Regions from separate parts of the Homo sapiens genome. Here regions 1, 2, 4, 5, 6 and 7 are each linked to region 3. Evidence: promoter capture Hi-C in 16 types of primary human blood cells and fetal thymus (Javierre and others, 2016). All regions are on one chromosome and are shown on one strand. The core of a region is centred on a gene start or on the middle of the fragment in contact, and the rest is flanking DNA. Distances in the headings are between cores, read along the strand shown.

Evidence for each region. The method cuts DNA at HindIII sites, captures the fragments that hold promoters and counts their contacts. A CHiCAGO score of 5 or more calls a contact.
Region 1: a fragment that was not itself captured here is called in contact with the fragment with the promoter of CMAS in region 3 in 8 of 17 cell types (activated CD4 T cells, non-activated CD4 T cells, erythroblasts and 5 more); the score reaches 9.2 in activated CD4 T cells.
Region 2: a fragment that was not itself captured here is called in contact with the fragment with the promoter of CMAS in region 3 in 1 of 17 cell types (non-activated CD4 T cells); the score reaches 6.2 in non-activated CD4 T cells.
Region 4: a contact is called between a fragment that was not itself captured here and the fragment with the promoter of CMAS in region 3, in 4 of 17 cell types (non-activated CD4 T cells, activated CD4 T cells, naive CD8 T cells and 1 more). The highest score is 9.1, in non-activated CD4 T cells.
Region 5: a fragment that was not itself captured here is called in contact with the fragment with the promoter of CMAS in region 3 in 3 of 17 cell types (total CD4 T cells, non-activated CD4 T cells and activated CD4 T cells); the score reaches 7.1 in total CD4 T cells.
Region 6: a fragment that was not itself captured here is called in contact with the fragment with the promoter of CMAS in region 3 in 7 of 17 cell types (activated CD4 T cells, naive CD8 T cells, total CD4 T cells and 4 more); the score reaches 9.8 in activated CD4 T cells.
Region 7: a fragment that was not itself captured here is called in contact with the fragment with the promoter of CMAS in region 3 in 9 of 17 cell types (non-activated CD4 T cells, total CD8 T cells, monocytes and 6 more); the score reaches 10.8 in non-activated CD4 T cells.

The regions. Positions count from the first base shown.
Region 1 is chr12:22,470,171-22,473,663 of GRCh38, reverse strand. C2CD5 (C2 calcium dependent domain containing 5) reads left to right here. Exons shown (of 27, transcript NM_001286176.2): 17 at 857-920; 18 at 1,317-1,378; 19 at 1,599-1,697; 20 at 2,176-2,265; 21 at 2,753-2,840. Among named protein-coding and RNA genes, the nearest start is that of C2CD5, 73 kb to the left of the region's middle. The HindIII fragment of the contact is 3,361 bases long and covers 296-3,493 here.
Region 2 is chr12:21,559,589-21,563,062 of GRCh38, reverse strand. It overlaps GYS2 (glycogen synthase 2), which reads left to right. Exons shown (of 16, transcript NM_021957.4): 7 at 25-145; 8 at 2,571-2,677; 9 at 3,353-3,412. Among named protein-coding and RNA genes, the nearest start is that of SPX, 35 kb to the right of the region's middle. The HindIII fragment of the contact is 779 bases long and covers 1,358-2,136 here.
Region 3 is chr12:22,044,247-22,047,540 of GRCh38, reverse strand. CMAS (cytidine monophosphate N-acetylneuraminic acid synthetase) reads right to left here and starts at 1,323. Exons shown (of 8, transcript NM_018686.6): 1 at 978-1,323. The coding sequence starts at 1,237. RefSeq lists enhancers at 191-896, 1,212-1,506 and silencers at 1,199-1,426, 1,070-1,439. The HindIII fragment of the contact is 10,395 bases long and covers 1-3,294 here.
Region 4 is chr12:22,525,850-22,529,310 of GRCh38, reverse strand. C2CD5 (C2 calcium dependent domain containing 5) reads left to right here. Exons shown (of 27, transcript NM_001286176.2): 4 at 1,419-1,590. Among named protein-coding and RNA genes, the nearest start is that of C2CD5, 17 kb to the left of the region's middle. The HindIII fragment of the contact is 6,677 bases long and covers 1-3,461 here.
Region 5 is chr12:22,505,168-22,508,388 of GRCh38, reverse strand. It overlaps C2CD5 (C2 calcium dependent domain containing 5), which reads left to right. Exons shown (of 27, transcript NM_001286176.2): 10 at 1,570-1,678. Among named protein-coding and RNA genes, the nearest start is that of C2CD5, 38 kb to the left of the region's middle. RefSeq lists a silencer at 2,160-2,454. The HindIII fragment of the contact is 154 bases long and covers 1,502-1,655 here.
Region 6 is chr12:22,486,345-22,489,915 of GRCh38, reverse strand. All of the region lies in intron 12 of C2CD5 (C2 calcium dependent domain containing 5), which reads left to right. Among named protein-coding and RNA genes, the nearest start is that of C2CD5, 56 kb to the left of the region's middle. The HindIII fragment of the contact is 4,369 bases long and covers 1-3,558 here.
Region 7 is chr12:22,546,304-22,549,805 of GRCh38, reverse strand. No RefSeq gene overlaps it. Among named protein-coding and RNA genes, the nearest start is that of C2CD5, 3.5 kb to the right of the region's middle. The HindIII fragment of the contact is 951 bases long and covers 1,475-2,425 here.

The DNA of each region.
Region 1 (3,493 bases), core at 727-3,226, 430 kb before region 3:
CATTACCTGAAGTTTGATCTAGGGCATTATTGATAAGTCTGATCTTGGGATCCTGGCTAAGTAGAGAGGCACATGAGAACAAAGTGCTTCAAACATGGGCAGAGGACAGAGGGCAAGTGGAATATCCAGTAAGAGAGGACAAAGAGACAGGACTGTAGTTGGAGAATGCTCGAGATCCTGGGTGTGGAACGTTTTGGGGAATAATGGGTTGAGGTATGGCTGTGACTGTGGGTAGCCACGTGAAGTGGAAGTGAAAGTGGTTCTTGAAGTCCTGAGGGTGATGTGGGAAGAAGCTTAGCGAGTCTGCAGGTTAGGACTTAGAAACTGAGGTGCAGATGAATGTCAGCGCCTGTCCAGCTGGATAGTTTCCCTATTTATTATTCACAGTGGAATATGGTGATGTAAGAAGAATAGAATTTAGACCTATTTATTTTATTAAAAAAATAGAGTTTAGACCTATTATTAGATATGTCTTTAAATTTATCTGTACCTAATTCCATTGTAAAGGAGTTCTGCATTTAGTGAAAGGATCTCATTACACTTTATTAATTTAAACAAATTAGAATAATGATTGCTTATGATGTCTTTGTCTTTAGAAACATATTCTCATAAAGGCTTGAGAAAGAGCTAGTTTTCTTTTTTAACTTAGTGTACTTTGTACGTAAAATATTTCACTTGGAAGTATTTGTGGTTATTACTGTGGAGAAATTTACTGATATTAGAATTTTTTTCTTGTTACATATTTTTACTTAGGAAAAATGACTCTGCCTTTTCTTGACTCTATTAATAGTTCTTTTAAAACGTGAAATAATTATGCATTTACTACTTATAAAATAGTTTTAATCTCTATTTTAAGATTGATGACACAGATGCCATGGAAGATGTCCATTCTCTACTTACTGATGTTCCTCCTCCTTCAGGTGAACAAAAAAGTTATCTTTGAGATGAAACTAGTTTTACATATAAATGTTTTAGCTCATAATTGTTACAGTACTAATTTTACTTTAAAAGAAGGACTTATCACAGTGTCACAGCTTGTCATGTACTTTGCTACTCCAAGGTAGAAAACATACCTTAAAAATACTTATGTTAGAACTTAGGTGGAAGTGATTTTTAGTCCTTTTATATTTATACACGGAAAAAAAAACCTGTGATAATTTATTAGGATGGTTTAAAGTCTCCTGCAGGTATAGTTTTAGAAGAAAAAAAATGAAGGGTGTTATAGTTAGAACTTCATATAATAATTGAAAAATGTCATTTAACACAAAAATCAATGAAATATTATCATATATTTTGATTACAATTTATTTTGACAGGCTTTTATAGTTGTAATACAGAAATTATGCCCGGTATAAATAATTGGACCTCTGAAATACAGGTAAACCTTTTTTTCTTAATTTTAAGCACATAACACATAAGTTATTTTAGTAAGTTCCATTTAAATATTTGTCTTTTTTTTTTTACCTCCTTATTGCAATTAAAATACCATCCTTATTCTACTACATTAGTTAGTATTGTTCATTATTTGGCAATTTATCAACTGTTAAAATATTTAGTTAAAAATAATAAAATGACATGTTATGTCACCCCACATTTAGATGTTCACTTCAGTAAGAGTAATCAGATTAAGCAGCCTCAACCTGACTAATCAAGCTCTCAATAAGAACTTTAATGATCTCTGTGAAAATTTGCTCAAGGTAGGAACCTTCTGACTAAATTTTATTTCATGCGTCTATAATAATGAAATTTTAAGTGTCTATATTGCTGTATTGTCTGTAATACCTTACACAGTTGTGGGCTGAATCATTCTTACCTACTTACCTTACCTCTATCAGCGGGTGAGATACTAAAGTTGTCCTCTCCCCCTTACTATATCAAATTATAAAAGAAATAGTTTTAGTTAATAGCTTTAACTTCCATAAAAATCTAGTGTATATGTGTATATTTAAAAAAACTTACTATATTATTTTTTGTGACTTATTGACGATTAAATCTTATTGTCTACTTAAATATTAAAAAGTATATCGTTAGTGTAAAAATACACAAAACAAAAGTGGACCAGTTTTGTTTTATTTTTAACTCTCCATTTGCTATAATATAATGTACATTAAAAAAATCAGCTTTTAAAAATTTTTAAATAAAAAAGTGACATTACTAATATTTTCTATTGTGTAGAGCCTGTACTTTAAACTACGATCTATGATCCCCTGCTGCCTTTGCCATGTAAATTTTACAGTATCTCTGCCTGAAGATGAATTAATTCAGGTAATTAAGATTTAGTCCATTATTAGTCTTTATCTGATCTGTTTTATTATTTTCATTATCTGTTTATCATAATTTTGCCGTAATTAAATAAACATATACTAGTTTACCTCACAATATTAAAAAATATATGTTAGTATGCATTAGGCCATGTGTGTTTCTTTTTCTGAACTTTAGTTATCTGAGGGGGTAAGCACACGTATGCTTCAGCATGTATACAGTAGGATCTGTACCCATCATGTGGGATTTCACCAGTTCCCATTTTTTAGAGAAGGTTCTTGAGCTCTTTCTGGAATATCTAGATTTAGGTATAACTGTTTGGTATAGTTGTAGTTTGTGTATGATTTGAATTTATACATAATTCTGGTTGAGGATTTTAACCAGAAAAGGTATTTGGTGTAGGTTGTTCCGTGGTACTGAAAAAAATATGTAAGAAACTTAGTTTTGGCAGTGATTATTTTGCTAACCATTATTGTTTTTATAATTCTAGGTTACAGTCACGGCAGTCGCAATCACTTTTGACAAAAATCAGGCTTTACAAACCACAAAAACCCCTGTTGAAAAGTCATTGCAAAGAGGTAAATCTTTACTGAATAGGAAGTTCAGTTTGTGTTTGTCTGTGTTATGGTTCAGTGATAAAATATACAGGACAGGTGGATTCAATAAATTACTTATTTCTTGAAGAATATTTGCTGCTTTTTCTGTTCATCTTTATGAAGATAACTGTGTGGATAAGCGTATGGCTGACTTGATATTTTTCACACGCGACTGGGTGGTATTTGACTGATGTTTACATAGAGAATGCTGCTGGTTTTTTAGACTTAAATTATAGCCTATTAATTCTGCAGTAATATAAGGGTTTCTATACTAAGATCTCTGGCAAGGTCTTCAAGGCATCTGAGGACCTACTGATGTAGTAAGCACAATTGTGTGCCTGTGTATTATTTTCAGGACAAGTTCCATAGTGTTCAACAGATTCACAAAGGTGGCCTTAATCCAGTAAAATTTAGGAAGTAGTCTTAATATATATTCTGAAGAAATCCAAATTATTGGAAACTGTGTGTTCTGAAAAACACATAATGGGGGATACTATACTTTCTTGTATAGTTTGAATGATTTACTGGCTAAATGAAATATTCCTGATTAGTCCTAAACTTTTAAAAGTTGATTACATTCTACATGTATAGCATTGATAAGATTTGAGCAGTGAGTTAATGTCAGGTAGATGTAT
Region 2 (3,474 bases), core at 498-2,997, 480 kb after region 3:
CTGTTTGGTTTTGTTTTGTTTTAGTCATCTCGACTTTGATCTTGAAAAGACTTTGTTCCTTTTCATTGCTGGGAGGTATGAGTTTTCAAACAAAGGAGCTGACATCTTCCTAGAATCCTTATCCAGGCTAAATTTCCTGCTGAGGGTAAGAAAGCTCTAGGACATGGTATAACACTCTTGTAGGGAGAACTTTCTTCTGTGGGAAGTGAAGAATTTTTTGGCTTCTTAAATAGTTTTCAAGAGAATAAACGATAATCGTATTCTAAAAATGGCTTCAGCCTTTCAATTTACATATTGGAGTTACCACACTGTTGACTTGTGTGTTTGTCTATAATGTCATCTTTTTTTTTTTTTTTTTTTTTTTGGAGAATCTTAAGCTTATCCCATTATATGTCTCATTAAGCTTATCCCATTCTCCCCTTCTATGTTTTAATAAGTCATTATAACATCCCTTTTCCCTCACATGAGTTTGTAATCAATTGAAAAGTAAATATAGAGAAATCCAGTAAATGCAGAGCAAAATATCAATTTTCAGAAAATCAGTGAAGACTATAATGGAAGATGTGGCTTATGCACATGACAATACGCATCCTAATACTGAACCTTGTTATGACTCTTAGCCATTTAATCATAGGAAGCTCTGACCATCACTCTCCTCTCCCGACTGAAGCAGGCCTTCAGAGTAGCACGTGCCACATAGCTGGCAGCCAAACCCGACAGCACGAACTCTCTATAGAACAGGGCAGACACATACACACTCGGTTCACTCACCTCCCCAGCCACACCACCTCCCTGCGACTAAGAGTTTTAAACTCTTGAACTAGTGGATGTCACACCACATGAAAGCATGAAGGAGGAAAAAGAAGGTTCTTACTCCCAACCATGTGAAATCATTTTTTTTACTCAGGAAGGTGGGATACAAAGTGGGTTCTCAACTAACCGAGCAACACAATATGCATAAATAAAAGCAACTATAAAAAAAGATACCATGTCATAGCTATTGATGGCAGCTATTGGTTTATATTCCAATCCCATCACATAAAAATGTAGAATAAGTAATAGGAAAATATTCACAGGAGAAGAGTGTAGAATTTCAATCTTAATGAGATAATGAGAAAATCTAAACTTTCCTGAGTTCTGTACTACCCTCCAGTTAAATTTTTATTTCTTGGACATAAATTTTTTGCTTTAGAGCAGACATTATGCCAAATATGCTAAAAAAATTTACTAAAGCCACGTTAATAAACAAGCGATTTATTAATAAAATCCAACTATGCAAAACAGAACTGAAGACTAAAAAGATTATTCTTAAATAACCTTACTTAATATTTCCTAGTATATATTCATTCAACAAGCTTTATAATGGACTCACAACTATATCACATATACAATCTTTAGGGACATTATTAATAAATGCATTTATATAGTTATTAAATATTCACTTTATTTATAGATATGAAGAAAAGACTGATTACTATTATACTAGACATAAAAGATAACTGCAATACTTGGAGAAGTTAAAAGAAGGAATTCTCTTTCCACATAGTACATTTATTTTTTGATAGCACCTTGGCTGTTCCTAGGGTGAGTTTCCTATTGTATGCCTTCAGTAGCTTTCCCTAATAAAATGTCAGGCCCTAGAGGGCCGAGGCTGCATACTAGACGGTAAAGTGCCCCACACTCTGGAGCTAGTCAGTCATTTCCAGAACACATAAACCTTCATAGAGGTTCATGATTTTAAGTGAGTTTATGCTTTCATTCTTACAGCTTCTTAACAAGTCATTTCCTTTTGAGAGATGCTAAGCCAGCAGTTTAAATGTCAGCTTTGGCACTAACCTGTTATAGGACTCAGAGAAAATATTTAACCTCTCATTCCTTTCTTTTGACATTAATAAAATGAGGAGAGAAATGCCTATTGTACATGATTATTAGTAGTATATTTAAAGCACCCAGCACAGTGTCTGCTATCCCAAAAGTGCTCGTCATGTGCTTGTTTCTTTGCTTTAGGGCTAAAAACCAAAATACAACATCATGAGAATCAAGACATTTAGCGGAAAAGTAAAAATAATCTATCTGTCATCAATCAACATGAATAAGCAAAAAAATTGAAATATTATTTTAGCTTTTACCAAAGCTTAAATCTTCATTAAACTTCCAATCTGAAATTTTAAAGAACTAATTTTGGTCTTGTAATATTAGCTCTCATTCATGCTATTTTTTTAACCACAGAAAAGCACAGTGTCATCAATAGCAATTGTTATCTATTCTAGATGGTCAAAGGCACGAAAATATTTTGTTTGAATTTTCAAATTGTTAACTGACAAATACTGATTGAAAGTCAATTTGTTTATTGGCAAGTACAGACTGAAAATTTAAAATTTATTTTGATTTTAATTAAAATTTCTGAAAAAGTCTCAGGAAGGTGAATATAATCTCTCTGTGAAACATAAATAACTATACCTTTTATCTACTGATATTTTAAAACTCTACTTTTCAATGTTTAAGTTCCATCTATCATACTTTTTAAAAATCTTTGATAGTTGACTCTGTGTTTTCTAATTCCTCATCAGATGCATAAAAGTGACATCACAGTGATGGTGTTTTTCATTATGCCTGCCAAGACAAATAATTTCAACGTGGAAACCCTGAAAGGACAAGCAGTGCGAAAACAGCTGTGGTAATCTCACAACCTGTGAATGTTCTCTAGCAATAAATGTGAAAAGATTTCTTTTAAGTGAATGACATCTCATGTATCGCCTTGAACTTTGTTTTTTCCTTAAGATTATTACAGACAAATAATACTTGACTCTCTTTTCATCGTGCTACTATTTTAGGTTATCGTAATGGTTATAACATTATAGGTGTTATACAAATTTTGGAATGAGCTACCATTGAAGGAACAAGGCCCTGTAGAAATCTTTAAAGATGAGTCAAACATTTTTTAACTTTCTATTGTGAAATTCTAAGAACATGTCAAGTAAAAAGCTTAGTAATATGACTCCCTGTATACTCATAGTTCAGATTCAACAATGATCAACGAATTCCCGTCTTGTTACACCTATACCTTCATCTACTCCCCCTCTCTGCTCTCTATCCTGTTCCAATCATCATGAAGCAAAAAAATTTTAAGCTCTTTGTGCTGGCCATGGTGTTCTGTTGCCTCAGCTCTGGAGATGTCAACTTAAGCTGAATTGGCAAGTAGTAAAATAATAGAAGAGACTATAAAAAAGATACCTGTAATTTCAAAGAATGTAATTTCAAAGAATGTCAACAAAACAATAGCATTATCGTGACAAATAAAGATTAAACATTGTCATACTGTTTAAATGATAAATCTTTCTGTTTCAAACAGGGATGTTGCACATTCTGTGAAGGAAAAGTTTGGAAAAAAACTCTATGATGCATTATTAAGGTAGGTGCTTGAAATGCTTTCTACTTCAATCACTTAAGGTTTCACTATTCAAATTTAACAAT
Region 3 (3,294 bases), core at 74-2,573:
GGTTAAATGAAAATCATTTACCCATATATTAATATGGGTAAGCAAATATAGGTTCAAAAAGAAAAAGAGATGACTTCAAAAACAGTCATCTCTTTAAAAATCGAAACATCAAAAGGTTAACATAAATTAATTTCCACAATAACAACACATTCAAATGTAGTTAGGTTGAAGCTATATGTGTAAATTCATTCTTGGCACAGAATTCGATCTCCCTTCTTTTATGAATAACATCAGCTTGTAACTCCTGACCAATTTGGCAATGTATCTAAATTACGCATAATTAAAACTGTCCATAGGGCAGGCGAGGTTCCAAAGGTATGATTAAATGATTTGTAAGTATTAATATATCATAAAACAGTCAGTTGTACACCTTCCCACTGAGTCTCACGTATTTATAAATGTAGGGAGTTTTCTAGATTGTGCTGACTCACAGGAAGATAGCTGGAGTATTTTTCAAAGGTTAGGAAAAGATCTCCAAGCTGAGCTTGAAATTCAGCTCTGACACCCCGACACTCAACTCCATTCATGAACCTGATGCCTCCCTAATCGAGCAGCACCAAGCAGTTATCAGAGGCTGAGCAACAGGGGAGCTTCGATGGCCCCCATCCAAAGAAGTTCACATATTATCACAGATGTTGCACCGGGGTGGCCTCCTTTACTTTTCCCCGTAAGGTCAACCCGGGAGGAGGGGACGGTTGGGGAGGTGTAATCTCCCCTTTTACGGATGATTCTCAAGGGCGGAGACAGGAACTGTCCCAGGTTATGACCATTGGCAGCTACGGAACAAGGAAGGAGCTGGAGCCCTTCCTCCTGGGCTCTCAGCCCGGCCCCAGGCACCCCGGATCTTGCACATCCCTGGCATGAGAGATGGCCCCCTTCCAAGAGCGGTGGCCCCGGAGGCCCCAGCCCCTCCAGCAGCCCGACTCCCTCTCCCGACCCCCGCCCAGGCCGCGCCGCCCACTCTCGCACATGCGCACCTCTGGAAGGCCCCTGAATCCAGGGCCGCACGCAGGACCCAGCCAATGAGCGGGACCCCCGCCAGGTGCTTAATGTTCTTCAGGGGGATGCCTTTGCTGCCTCCCCGGGCCAGAATTAGGGCTGCCAGGTGCGGGGGCTTCTCCACACCTCGGCCCTGGCCGCCGCGAGAGTTGCGCTGCAGCTTCGGCGGCCGGCCCCGGGACGGTCGCCCCCGCGGGTTGGAGACGGAGGTGGCGGCCCCCTTCTCCACCGAGTCCATCTTCCTCCCACGCCTTCTCCCCAGCTTCTCCACATCCGGGAGCTAGTCCCTCACCACCTCAGCTCGGCGCCGCCCGATCCCCGCCTGGCAGCTGGCGCGCGCGGCCGTCCCTCGCCCCGCCCCCTCCCCCGCCCCTCGCGGTGCTCGCTGGGAATTGTAGTCCGCGGCCGCCTCGTCTGGGGCCAGTAGGCCAAGTAGGCTCTGATGAGGTGACCCCAAAACTAAGTCAAGCAGTGGGAGTCCAGAGATATTTGGAGGAAGTGCGGCTTTTGGGGTGCTTGCAAGTGTCTGTAAATTTCTAAAATTAAAAAAGAAAAAAAGTATTTATAATTGCTGAAGAACTTCCCCACTTTAGAATTGTGGTGGGTTTCCCGTTGCATACCTTGATGCACCCTGACACGAATCCATTTTATATTTTAAAATGTACATTTTAAACATACACCTTTTTTTAATGCCCCTGGGTCATTTTTTCCAAGAAATTACTGACCAGCTCATTCAAATATCCTACAGGCGCCTTAAACTCAACGTTTTAAAAACTCCATTTTTCATATGCTCTCCGCACTTTGATCGACATCAGCATTCCCTAGCAGCAGAAATTTGGAAGTCAGCTTTACTGGTCACCTCTAGTGTGGCCGACACTTGGTTTTTTGGTTTTGTTTTGTTGTCTGCTAAAAATCTTTTCCTTTTAGGAATTGATCCCTCTCTCATCCGGTGAGGGTTTCCCTCACATTCTCTGCACTGTGTGTGACCCAAGCTGGTCCATCTACGCACCCCATTTTCCTTAACACACCTGTGGTCTAGGGACAGGCATATGACCAAGCAGAGCCCACTGGAGTCCTTTCCAGAGAGTCTTGGAAAGAAAGGATCTTTCTCGTGCTGACTGGGTGCTAAGGACCTTGTTAACCTGAAGCCTCAGGGCAAGGGTAGGGTAGGGCGGCAGGGGGGCTTTGCTGTTCTGAAATGGGCTGGAAGACTGATGTTCTCCCTGAGGAAGCAGAACAATGACATGTAGGGATTAAAGAGAAAGAATTCTGGAGGCATCATTTAAACTCTTTTTTTTTTTTGAGACAGATTCTCACTGTGTCCCCCAGAAGGCTGGAGTGCAGTGGCACAATCTCGGCTCGCTGCAACCCTCTGCCACCCATTCTCAAGCGTCCTGAGTAGCTGGGATTACAGAGGGGCACCACCACACCCAGATAATTTTTGTATTTTTAGTTGAGTTGGGGGTTTCACCAGGTTGGCCAGGCTGGTCTTGAACTCCTGACCTCAAGTGATCTGCCCGCCTCAGCCTCTCAAAGTGCTGGGATTATAGGCATGAGCCGCCACGCCTGAGCATTTAAACCCTGATCCAGCCAAGAGGCTCAAAGACATACACCCACACACACCTCTCTTAGGAAAAAAAAAAAAAGAGACTTTAAAGCAGGCATCTCTGACCTAGCATGCATTTTGTCTTTCAGCATGTTTGCAAGCCTATATTTGGAAGTAGAGTCTTTTACATTTCTGAGATGGAGGCTGATACAAACAGAAAGAATGGATTGTAGTGTGTCGGCTTGCCTTCTCCCAGAGGGCAAAAGGATTTTGTACTTCTCAGGTCTTGGCCATTTTTGAGGGGAGAGAAGAAGTCTTTGATGTTTTGGGTCCTATGAGAGGTACTGGATACTTTACATCTCTTAGTCTGTGAATTAACTGAGGGCCCAGCCCTTCCTGGGACTGGTGCTGGAAGAAGGTGCTTCGTGCAGACACAGATAAGGGAGGCTGTGAGCAGACATCAATGCCATGCTTGGGAAAGGGGCAGGCTCTATGAGCCATTCCAGCACTGAAGGGCAAGGGGACAACTTGCCCCCATACACTGGCTCTTTGAGTAGGGCCTTTGCAGTTGCTGTGCCTCAGAGACACCAGCACTGAGCTTTTGGTAGTCATGTGAGGACCCCTACTACACCCCAATAACAATCTTGATTCCTATTAATGATTTAGTTGCCCTTCTCCACAGTAATTCCCTACAGGCCCATAAATCCTAGTGGACCACAGACACCTGAGTAGTTTTGACTCCTGGGGCA
Region 4 (3,461 bases), core at 446-2,945, 480 kb before region 3:
TTTCTCTTCTGTTAAATGTATACATAACAATAGTAGTGGAGAGAATGCCATTGGATGACAGATGATTTGGAATGGATTGGGATTCAAAATGATCATTTTATTTTAACATTTCATTATGGAAAATTTCAAGCATGCACAAAGATAGATTAGTATATTGAACCTCACCCACCTTTAACAGCTGTCTACGTTCTACTGTTCTTGTTTTGCCTTTTTAACTCCTGCCCACCCCGGTTTTCCTTGTGGGGATATTTTAAGGCAAATTTGAGATGTTATATGATTTCATCTGTGAATTCCAAATTATATACCTCTTATAAAGGAGGACCCCTTATAAATAAACAAAACCTTAGATCACATTATCACACTAATGATATCAATAATTCCTTAATATTCTTTAATTTTTAAAATAATCTTCAGAGGCTGGATTATTAGCTTAACATCAACAATAAATTAAATAGGGGATAGGGAAAGGCATAAATGTTTCATATCCAAGTTTAAAAAACCAACCAGAGTATAAGGGTTGCAGAGCTATCACTTGACCAAAGCATATGTAAGAATGATACAGAGATTTTAGCCAACCACAGACTCAGTCTTAATAGTATGGTATGTCTGATGTAAAGAAGAACATCCATGGACTGCATTTTAAAAGTATAATTTTCTAATTATAGAAAATAATAATCCTTTGGTATTCTGTCCCAATCTTAATAGTGTCTATAATATGTTCCCTTCTGGCCACTATATTTGATGAAGGGGACTGGTAAATTAGATAATGGCATGATATCCAGAAGGTGGCAGCCAAAATAGTGAGTACGTCTTCCATGAGGAAATCATTTTGCACTGTTCTCCATTGTAAATGCCTCTGTTTGGCACAGTGTTTGGCATATGATAACAACTCGATAATGACTAAATAAAAGGAGAGAGGGTAGATGTTTATATCATGAACTTAATTTGTGAACTTAGGTTGTTTTTTCTTACACATAATGTTAATTTTGCTTATGGTTCTGTTCTCTGAAATCGCCCTTAGAAATTGTGGTGTCATTGTGCTCAATTAGCATTCTTCTCTCTATAGATACTACATGAACTCTAATATGACATTCCTTAGGCATTTTTGCTATGTATCATAGGCAAAGTTGTAAAACACAGGATAATATGTAAAAAAAATTGAGATTTAAATTTTTTTGTTGTTAGTCATCCCAGTCTTGTGCTGAGAGATAAACTTTTTTTCTTTAGAAAGATGGGATATTGTGTAGGAAAAGGAGCTATATCTTTTTGTGTGTTAATTCTTTTCTTTACTTTGGTGCTTAGAAATCTGTAAGATTTTATTTGCAGATGTGTCATCCTTTTCATTTGATATAGGTATACATTTGTGGTAATTAAGATTTAAAAACTATATGAGTTTTAATTTTAAGGTATACTTGTAGGTGGATGATGAAGACTTACAAGATGAACCTTTACAGATCACAGTTCTTGACCATGATACTTACAGTGCAAATGATGCCATTGGTAAAGTGTACATTGATATTGATCCTTTACTGTATAGTGAAGCTGCAACAGTCATCTCAGGATGGTTTCCAATTTATGACACCATACATGGTAAGGAATAATAAGAAAGTATTATAAATAACAATCTTAATCTTTTTTATTTGTCCTTAAAGACATTTGTGCTATATTTGCTGGTTTAAAATATGTATCTTTAGGCTAGGTGCGGTGGCTCATGCCTGTAATCCCAGCACTTTGGGAGGCTGAGGCGGGTGGATCACCTGAGGTCGGGAGTTCGAGACCAGCCTGATCAACATGGAGAAACCCCGTCTCTACTAAAAATACAAAATTAGCTGGGCATGGTGGTGCATGCCTGTAATCCCAGCTACTTGGGAGGGTGAGGCAGGAGAATCACTTGAACCCGGGAGGCGGAGGTTGTGGTGAGCTGAGATCGTGTCCTGTGCAACAAGAGTGAAACTCTAGCTCAAAAAAAAAAAAAAAAAATATATATATATATGTATATAATATATCTTAAGATGATGCCTTTTTAAAAATAAATAATAGTAAATTATTGTTAGTAAAATTGTTGCTTCTCTCAACATAATTTGAGATAATGCTTGCTAAATTTGTATAGTATAGTAAGTAAATGCATGATTTAAAACTGATCTAGTATTGATACTGTGTTTCTAAAACACATTTTCAAACTGATTAATAATGATTTTTGTACTTAAAAGTTACTTAAAAGTTTTTTGTTGCCTGAAGCAGGGCCTCCCGGGCAGTTGCGATTGCAGGCACATGCCATTGCAGGCACATGCCATGACACCTGGCTGATTTTTAAATTTTTTGTAGAGACACGGTTTTGCCATATTGGCTAGGCTGGCCTTAACTCTAGAGCTCAAGTGATCTGCCTGCCTCAGCTTCCCAGAGTGCTGGGATTTGCTTTCTTAATATTTTAGTAGGTAAATTATTGAGTCAGTTTTCTTAAGTCTTCCACCATAAGTATGAATTTGACATGAAGTCAGGACAGTCAAGTGAAAATATTTAGTAAATGTTTAGAGATAAGATCTGGGTCATTCTTATTTATCAGAGCATGTTTTGAAAACCCTTATTCTTGGAATTTTTTATTTACTTAATTTTTTTCTCGCTGTGTTGCCCAGGCTGGTCTCAAACCCCTGAGCTCAAGCTGTCCTCCTGCCTTGCCTCCCAAAGCACTGAGATTACAGGCATGAGCCACTACTCCTGGCTTGGAATTTTTTAGTTAGCTTGCTTTAACTTATATTCATTGAAAAGAATAAAACTTCTTTTGTTTTAAATCAGATTCTTGCATTGTTAAGAATATATAATCTGGGATCATAAAGATCTGAATTTTAATCCTGGATCTGCCACTTAACAGCTATTGACACTGTAAATTACTTAATTTTTATTAAAAATTTCTTCCTTTGTAAAATGGGGATGATACTACCTTATTGGGTTGATGTGACTGCTCTGAGATACTACCTGTAAAGTGTTTAGTACATCGTGTATCAGTGCTCAGCAAATGTTGTCACCATAATCATTATCATCATCATCAATTCAAATGGGACTCCTTTCTAATTAGTCTTGGGTCAAAGTGGAGACTTGTGAAAATGAAAATTATTCATATTCTAATGCATACGTGTTGTGCTTCAGAAAATATACAGAAACTACTGAAAAAGAAAATAACTAGGAAACAAAGCTGGCATTACTATTATGATCAACACATTACAGATGCACCTTGATTTGTGATGGCGTTATATCCAGATAAACTCATCCCAAGTTGAAAATGCATTTAATATATCTAATCAACCAAACATTATAGCTTAGCCTAGCCTATCTCAAATGTGCACCGAACACTTATATTAGCCTACAGTTGGACAGAATCAACTAAAACAAAGACTATTTTTTAAATAAAGTATTGAACATCTCATGTAATTCATTGAATTCTGGACTGAAAGTGAAAATCAGAA
Region 5 (3,221 bases), core at 329-2,828, 460 kb before region 3:
ATTTATTATAAGTGACGTACTCTCCTTCCATCCTCTTCCTTATTTTCCCTCTACCTTTCTGCTGGGCTATACCTAACCACTTCCATAGACCAGTTTTTTACTCTTTTCTTACATAGCATAGATTTTTCTTTCTCTTGTTTAAAGATTACTTCTAAATTTGAACTGAATTTATTTCTAAATAAATTTTAGAAACTTTTTTATACTCAACCTTCATGGGTTACTGAGGTGCACAGGACTGATAGCTTTTGTGCAAAATGATTCCAAGTTGCCGTGCTTTGTGATCATGCTTTTGTGAGTTTGTATTCTCCATGCTTGAAGCAGCCAGTGAATAATTCTTGCTGCTTTTAATAAGCCTGCTTCTGGTGGTATTCTGTATCTCTTTACCAGCTTTTATTTGTTGCATTTAATCTGAGGTGGTCTTGAAAATGAGATCATGATAAATTTTAGAGTTGTTTCTTTTTAAGATAAAAATTTATAACTACTATAATATAGTATGAATATGATCTGTGGGAGTCTCCTATGAATAAAGTATATGAGCTTTAGAGCTTGAGACCGTAACAGTTCTTTTGACCGTTGAGAGCCCTGTTTTGCTTATTTTTCTCAATTATGCTCAATTATGTTCTAAATAGCTGAGGCTACTGGTAAGTGATTCCAGTTAAGTGAGCTACATTAATCTTGCAGCCAGACAGGTCAAACATCAAGTTTTCCTTACTTGCATCCAATTTGTGTAATGTGAGGGGCCTCCATGTTTTCACAGGAGCTCCGTTTTCTTATTGGGTCCTATTTCAATGAATTTCCTTTCTTGGCTTTTTCATTTGTCTTTTTTGTGTTTCTCTTTGTCTCTAAGTTGATGAATTTTATTCTTTAAGAGAGAAGGATAGAATAAAGCTTGCAAGAACTTGTGGAATTTTATTGCCTTCCTAGCTGTTATCTATGTACCTTTCAACTTTCCTTAATGTACCTTTATGCACTTGTATTTGTTCCTGCCACATTGGTGTTGATAGAGTAACCTCACACAATGATTCTCTACCCATCTCAACTTGATATTTGCCACTATCCTCTTTCTCTTAACCCACACTGCTTATCCTCTCACTTATCCTCCTTTGGTCCCACTTTCATTTAGATCCCTTGGCCCCAGGTTTTTAGAGTCTTTACCAGTGTCTTATACTGGGTGTTCATGTGAAGGGGGTGTCTAAACCACTGATAGATAAAGGGGAAGAGGGATAGGGCAGTTCCCTCATCTCATTGAGAAGTTCCATCAGAGTTGGAGATTCAGAGGAAGGAAGAGTGTGTTTCAAATATCTTAAATTGAAGGAACACTTTTTTTTTCTTCATTGAGAACTGATGAAATGGGTCTTTGGATTCTGTATAACATTGTATATATGGGGAAATGGATTTGAAACTCTAAACATTTAATTAAACTTTTAATTACAAAGCATGTGTGATGTGTAATGGGTGGCCTTTTATTTCAAGGGATGTAATACAGTTGCTATGGCAAGCTTTTTAATAAGCAAATTTTTTACACTCTACACACGATAAGTTGTATTTTTCCCTTATTCTTTCCACTAGGAATTTCCATTTTTTACCTTGACGGCATTTCCTCCTGGATTCCTTGTACACGTTGGGGGTGTAGTTAGTGCACGTTCTGTGAAGCTTTTGGATCGTATCCACAATCCTGGTATGTTCTTAAAAAGTTTCAATGTTTCCTTTATTTAAATTGTGGTTATTAAAATTGATTTTTATGATTTTTTTAAAGCCAAATCTAACTGAAAAGAGAAATGAAAAGAAAGTATAAACTAGCACGTTACTTTAATATATTTGTAGTCATCTTAATTATAAATAAACTAAGTGTATTTTAGTTACTTTTCTGTAAAAAACCAATTGATTTATTTTTGGTCACAATATCACTTTAAGGAAATCCTTAAATAACTTTTCTTTGACCCAGGGGAGATAAACATTTTTATAAATTGACCATTATGGCCATTAGTTTAAGATGTTAGTTCTTTTCATTAGCAGTAGCTTTTTATAGATTACTTATTTTCCTTGTTCTTAAAACAGGTATTTTTAAAAATGTAATTGTAAAGCTGGGCACAGTAGCATGTGCCTGTTGTCCCAGCTACTCAGGAGGCCGGGGCAAGGAGGATCGCTTGAGCCCAGGGCAACATAGCCAGACTTGGGCAACAACCTGGGCAACACAACAAGACCTATGTAAACACTGTGGGTGTCATAGGAACAGATAGGTAGCAGAGGGAACCAAACCAGTCCATGGGTCAAAGACCCTCTTGCTGAGCAGGCTACTGGAGCTGTCATTTCTTAGAGCTCATTGTGTAACTTGAACACACTGGGACTGTCTTTGACCACGGCCACCTGTCCCCTCCAGTCTACCCAGGCAGCACTCAGGAGACACAGAACCCAGATCCCAGCACTGTGCTGGGATTCCACTCTGTCATTGGTGGAATCCAGCATGGGCAACAAAGTAATTGTAGGCGTTGTCTAGAGTAGCTAAGAATTGAAAAACAGATGAGCAAACTAACATCTGGTCCTTCAGTTTCTTTTATGTAGCTATTTGTTATGTTTAAGCAAACGAGTAAGAATAGTAGCTTACTTCTTTAAAACATAGGACCATAATTATAAAAGCGAGTAGGCATCAAAGTCCCACTGGATTCAGGCCCTTTGATCAGAAATCCTCTGGTGATTTTTCTACGTCTAAAATAAGCATGATGAATAGTGGGAACTTTCCATATGGAATGTGTTCTTGCATCTCTCATTGACTAGATGCTCAATCAACATACATTAAACCTGAAGTTATATTAGTATTCTTATTTGGTGTATAGACGTATATATTTTTGAAAATTTTAAATTGTCACATCCAGTGACCTCTTTGTGAGGCTTGTATTGACAGCTATAAAAAGAAGGGTGGCCGGACACAGTGGCTCATGCCTGTAAAATACTAAAAATACAAAAATCAGCTGAGCGTGGTGGCAGGCACCTGTAATCCCAGCTACTTGGGAAGCTGAGGCAGAGAATTGCTTGAACCCGGGAGGTGGAGGTTGCAGTGAGCCGAGATTGTGCCACTACACTCCAGCCTGGGCGACAAGAGCGAAACTCTGTCTCAAAAAAAAAAAAAAAAAAAAGAAAGAAAGAAGGGTAAAAATGCTTTGAAGTTATTGGACCAAAATATTGTAGATAATGACTATTTTTGAGGATACAGAGCATTACTA
Region 6 (3,571 bases), core at 125-2,624, 440 kb before region 3:
CTAGTGTCTTGATAAGTGACATGTATGATTACCAGTTGAAGAATTTCAGGTGTCCATTTTTTTTTGCTTTGTCATGATATAGAAATAATCTTTGGATCTTTCTCTTCCTTTCATTTCCCTGTGTCTCACCTCCAAAAACAGAAAGAGGTTATGAAACAATTTTTATAAAAAACAATTCTTAATTTACAAAATAGTAAAAGTACTGCATTTTATCAAGATTATCTGTAGATATAATATATATGGTCCTTCCGTGTCCATAGGGAATTGGTTCCAGGACCCCTTGCAGATACCAAAACCTGCAGATGCTCAAGTCCCTTATATAAAATGGTATAGTATTTGCATGTAACCTATGCACATTCTCCCCTATACTTTAAATAATCTCTAGATTATTTATAATACCTGATATAATACCTGTTCATCATTTCATTTTCATGGATTCAGTGTAATGCTGAGCATGTGGCAAATTCAAGTTTTGCTTTTTGGAATTTTGTGGGATTTTTTATTGTTTTCCTATTTTCAACCTGTGATTGGTTGAATCCATACATGCCAAACCCATGGATACGGAAGGGTGACTGTATATTTAAATATATATATATATACACATATATAAACTATTAGTTTGGTACCAGAGTCTACCTGGATAATACAGATTTTAATTACCCCTTATGCCACAGTGTGCCTATTTACTTCCCCCCTCCCCAGTATTAATATATTAAGTATATATTAAGAAAGGAAGCAAAGGCCAAGTGCGGTGGCTCACGCCTGTAATCCTAGCACTTTGTGAGGCTGAGGTGGGTGGATCACTTGAGGTCAGGAGTTTGAGACCAGCCTGGCCAACATGGTGAAACCCCGTCTCCACTAAAAATACAAAAATTAGCCTGGTGTGATGGTGGGCGCCTCTAATCCCAGCTACTCAGGAGGCTAAGGCAGAAGAATTGATTGCTTGAGCCTGGGAGGTGGAGGTTGCAGTGAGCCAAGATGGCACCACTGTTCTCTAACCTGGGCAACAGAGTGAGACTCTATTTAAAAAAAAAAAAAAAGCAAAAAAATTCTGTATCTTGTCAAGTTTAGTATAAACTTGCACGCATTTATAACTAAGATATTCTAGTTCTGGTATTCACTAGAGGAACTTGGTCAGTTTCTTTTGTCAGTATTAAAATGGATATTGACTATTATGAATTCCAGAGCCTTAAAGGTCATTGTAAATAGGAAAGTGAAGGTGGGGCATTTTGAAGCACAGTAAATAATTAGAATATTCTATTGAGGAAACTCTCTTTGTCAGTGAGTTGTACCAGTGATACAATATAGTTCTTACACGTCTGTAGATTTCATTCTTAAGTTGATAGGAAGCCTAATTTAACAAATGACCTTTTTCATGTAGCTTGGTTTTTTTCTGTATTGTGGCTTGGACGAATACAATAAATTCTCTTATATAGTAGTTCAATACAATAGGTGCCACCCCTAGTTGTAAAAAAAAAAAGAAAAAAACAAGGAAAATGCCTTTTCTTTCTGCTATAAAAATTATTACTGCTTATTAGAAAAAATTTGGAGAGTTCCTATATCAAATGATGCTAGATTGCCATCCTTTTCAAATTCTTATATGCTTTGTAAGATTTCCTACGTCTTGCCTTGAAGTCAGCTGTCATTTTTCATGCTAATTCACTATGCTGCCTATAGAAATTCTTATCCTCATTTGTTTGCTATTTCTTTGTTTTTTTTTAATTATACTTTAAGTTTTAGGGTACATGTGCACAACGTGCAGGTTTGTTACATATGTATACCTGTGCCATGTTGATGTGCTGCACCCATTAACTCGTCATTTAACATTAGGTTTATCTCCTAATGCTATCCCTCCCCCCTCCCCCTACCCCACAACAGGCCCTGATGTGTGATGTTCCCCTTCCTGTGTCCATGTGTTCTCATTCCCACCTATGAGTGAGAACGTGCAGTGTTTGGTTTTTTGTCCTTGTGATAGTTTGCTGAGAATGATGGTTTCCAGCTTCATCCATGTCCCTACAAAGGACATGAACTCATCCTTTTTTATGGCTGCATAGTATTCCATGGTGTCTAGGTGCCACATTTTCTTAATCCATTCTATCATTGTTGGACATTTGGGTTGGTTCCAAGTGTTTGCTATTGTGAATAGTGCCGCAATAAACATACGTGTGCATGTGTCTTTATAGCAGCATGATTTATAATCCTTTGGGTATATACCCAGTAATGGGATGGCTGGGTCAAATGGTATTTCTAGTTCTAGATCCCTGAGGAATTGCCACACTGACTTCCACAATGGTTGAACTAGTTTACATTCCCACCAACAGTGTAAAAGTGTTCCTATTTCTCCACATCCTCTCCAGCACCTGTTGTTTCCTGACTTTTTAATGATCACCATTCTAACTGGTGTGGTATGGTATCTCATCGTGGTTTTGATTTGCATTTCTCTGATGGCCAGTGATGATGAGCATTTTTTCATGTGTCTTTTGGCTGCATAAATGTCTTCTTTTGAGAAATGTCTGTTCATATCCTTCACCTACTTTTTGATGGAGTTGTTTTTTTCTTGTAAATTTGTTTGAGTTCATTGTAGATTCTGGATATTAGCCCTTTGTCAGATGGATAGATTGCAAAAATTTTCTCCCATTCTGTAGGTTGCCTGTTCACTCTGATGGTAGTTTCTTTTGCTGTGCAGAAGCTCTTTAGTTGAATTAGATCCCATTTGTCAATTTTGGCTTTTGTTGCCATTGCTTTTGGTGTTTTAGACATGAAGTCCTTGTCCATGCCTATGTCCTGAATGGTATTGCCTAGGTTTTCTTCTAGGGTTTTTATGGTTTTAGGTCTAACATTTAAGTCTTTAATCCATCTTAAATTAATTTTTGTATAAGGTGTAAGGAAGGGATCCAATTTCAGCTTTCTACATATGGCTAGCCGGTTTTCCCAGCAGCATTTATTAAATAGGGAATCCTTTCCCCATTTCTTGTTTTTGTCAGGTTTGTCAAAAATCAGATAGTTGTAGATGCGTGGCATTATTTCTGAGGGCTCTGTTGTCTCTTTATCACAATATTGAGTAATAATTGCCATTCACAAGTTAATTCTGCAGTTTAAGGAAGGCTTAAATTTTGCATCTTTTTCTTACACTACACACTCTAGTTCTACCAACATTCTCGGCATTTCCTTAAAATGTCATTTAAGAAATATTCTATTAAAAACAATAAATTAAATGAGCTTCTGTCTTTAAACCAAACTGTCAGTGATTCTAAAATCATCAGCCATTCATTTGTATAGGATGTTAGAGAGCAGATGTTTAATTATATTGAGTATTTTCCTGAAAGGAAAATAAAATAACCTAAATGCACAGGTTATACCTGTGGTTGAAAAAATGCAATGTGCTAGTCCTCAGCAGTTGTATTTATTTGAAGTCATGACTGATAGCTAATGCCTTGTCTTGGCTTATAAGAAGTTGGTTTAAAATGAATTCATTAGTTTTCCCTTATGTAGAAATACTGGTTCTGCTAATGCTCTGGCACTGATATGGGGAAAGGAAACTGGATTAGGATTAAAGCTTCACCTCTAGACT
Region 7 (3,502 bases), core at 701-3,200, 500 kb before region 3:
CACAAATGGAAAACCTGCAGGCTTTGCAGTACCAGCATGAATAAGGGGAACTTGTCCTGGTGCTAACACAATAAGGAAGTGTCTGCCTATTTATATCTCAGTACCATGACTCATTGAGTGCATTGATAGGCACTGATAAAAAGCAGTGTGGGCTGGCTGTGGTGGCTCACACCTGTAATCCCAGCACTTTGGGAGGCCAAGCTGGGTGGATCACCTGAGGTCAGGAGTTCGAGATCAGCTTGACCAACATGGTGAAACCCCCATCTCTACTAAAAATACAAAAATAAGCTGGGTGTGGTGGCAGGTGCCTGTAATCCCAGCTACTCGAGAGGCTGAGTCAGGACAATCACTTGAACCTGGGAGGCGGAGGCGGCAGTGAGCAGAGATCACACCATTGCACTCCAGCCTGGGCAACAAGAGCAAAACTCCCAAAAAAAGCAATGTGTTCCACTGCAATAATCTTCCAATTTAGAGAATATTTTACTTGATGCAGTCCTTATGCCCATGGTACATTAAGTATGGTATGGTACCTTATGCCCATGGTACATTAAGATACAAGGGAACTAATAAGATGATGAGTTTACCTAGATGCCTACTTATCTCATTTTTACTCCTTAATCAAAGCAAAAGTGAGCCACATGGTGGCTCACACCTGCAATCCTAGCACTTTGGGAGGATGAGGCAGGCAGATCACTTGAGCCCAAGAGTTCGAGATCAGCCTGGGCAACATGGGGAGACCTCATCTCTACTAAAATATAAAAATTAGCCAGATGTGGTGGTGTGCGCCTGCAGTCCCAGCTATTCAGGAGGCTAAGGTTGGAGGATCACCTGAGCCTGGGAGGTTGAGGCTGTGGTGAACTGTGATCTTGCCACCGCACTGTAGCCTGGGTAACAGAGTGGGACCCTGGCCCAAAGGAAAAAAAAAAATCAAAGCAAAAGTAACTGAACTGAGCCCAAGTTGTCATTTGTATAATTATACTTGTAATCCCAGCCCACTTTCAAACTTAAATCAGTGAGTTTCTGGCTTGAGCAATTGACTATGTAGTTGGCATTGCTGTTTAGTAGAAGACTACCAGGTCTTTTGTTGTTGTTGTTGTCATTCTCGTTGTTGTAGTTATGGGAAAGGTAAAGAAAATCAGGTCAGTTTTGGACATCTTGACTTTTGAGGTCACTTTTGGACATCTTGACTTTTGAGGTCACTTTGATACTCCAAATGGAAATAGTAACTTGGCAGTTGCATATATGGGTCAAGATCCCAGAAGCGAGTTACAGACTAAAGATAACGATTTGAGAGTCCCTGACTAAACAGATGGAAATTAAAATTGTGAGCTTGGATGAGATCACCTAGGGAGACAGTACAGTTGGAAGAGAATAGAGACAAAAACTGAACCTGAGAAAAACACATATTTAATAGTTAAGGACAATGAGTAGGCTGAGAAGACAGATGTATAAACCAGAATAGGTAAGAGAAGCTTGGTTTCTGAATACCAAGAGGAAGATTATTTTAAGGACAGCGTGGTCAACAGCATCAAATGCTACTGAGAGTCACGTAAATAAAAAACTGAAGCCAGGCATGGTGGCACGTGCCTGTAGTCTCAGCAACTTGGGAGCCTGAGGCAGAAGGACTGCATGAACCCAAGGGTTTGAGACCAGTCTGGGCAACACAGCAAGACCCCATCTCAAAAATAAAAACTTAAAACTAAAAAAAGTGTTCATTGCATTTAGCAACCAGAGGTTATTGATGGCATTAGTGAAAGCTGTTTTTGTAGAGTGGTGGTGGCTAAACCCAGATATTAATAGTTTTTGGAGCGCTTAGGAAGTGAGGAGAGGGCACCAAGTACTGACAACCCTTGAGTAATTTAACCTGAAAGAATGGGAAAGATTAACAGGAACATTTTAGGAAGCCAGGAAAGAAGAGCAATCTAAGTAGTAATAGCAAGTGTTAACTGTTAATTTAATTCCACAATAATTTGTTGATCACATGAAGGGCACAGGACAAAGAACTGAGAATTGAGAGATGAGTGAGAAGCAATCCATTCCCTCAGAGTGCTCATGGTTTAGTGGGGGTTGGGGGGGAGAGAGATGGATAAATAATTATTGCATGGAAAGTATAATAACAAATGTATTAGATTTAGTAGTAGCATAGGTGGGAGTGAAGAGCATATTTATTAGGAAGGAGATTAGAGAAGATGTAGAAGTGACTTTTGTAAAAGGCAAAAGATTTATACACTCTAAAGAGAAACCAGAGTATTGACTTTTGAACTGAGTTATGAATTCATAGCTATTTGGTAGGATGACTATGAGAGAGATACTCCAGGAAGAAGGAAAAGTATAGTTTATTAGAAAACTACATGTAATCTTCAAAGACGTGAGTTCTTGGAATCACATTGTCTAGATTTAAAACCTGCCTCTATCATTAGAAGCTTTGTGACCTTGGGTAATCACCAGAGCTTTGAAAAGCCATAATTTTCTCATTTATAAAATGAAGGCTGATAATTCCTACCTCAGGATTTTAGGGAGCCTTAACAGCTGTGAAACGCTGAATTCAGTAGCTGGTGTGCGGCAAACCATCAATACACGTTAATTCTTGTTATTGATAATTTAAAATGCAAAAAGAGTGTCAGGGTATGAAGCTAAACAAGGTAATCAGGAGTCACATCATGGTAGATTTGTCAGAAAGTTAGCACTGTTCCCAGCATTAATGAAAACAAACGAGAACAATTATTAGGAAACAGTTCAACTGAAGTCAGGCTTAAATCTACTAAAAATAGTTTTCAGGAAGCATCTTAATTATAATCTCTTGTTGATGAAGCCTAAGGCAACAAGTACGTACAAGTACCTCAAAGTCTACTAATTAGGAGGCTGAGATTGCTAACCTCTAATTGTGCAATTTGCAACTTTTTACATTTTGGAACACAATGCATTATTTTCCATTAATATTGGTGCTAAACTTCAATTTTCTAATATTTTTTCTTTATACATTTCATATTTTAAAAAATGAGTTGGTAATACGGTAATACTTCGATTTCACCACAAAAACGACTTCAACTCTACCACCCAAAACAACAAAAAACACTGATCATGCCGGGCAAGATGGCTCATGCCTGTAATCCCACCACTTTGTGAGGTCAAGGCAGGAGGATGGCTTAAACCAGGATTGAGACCAGCCTGGGCAATACAGGGAGACTCCATCTCTTCAAAAAATTTAAAAAACTAGCGGTGCATGGTGGTATGTGCTTGTAGTCCCAGGAACTTGGGGGGCTGAGGTGGGAGGATCGCTTGGCCCAGAAGATTGAGGCTGTAGTGAGCTATGATCATGTCACTGCACTCCAGTGTGGGACACAGAGTGAGTCCCTGTCTCTAAATAAATAAATAAATAAAAAACGTTGATCACATAGTGTAGCCAACCTTCAGAATTCTGGCAAGGGTATTTTAAGGGCAGAGTCAGACTCCAGAAAAAGCTGCAGGTGGACCTAAGGAAATTCGCATGGGATCTATGACC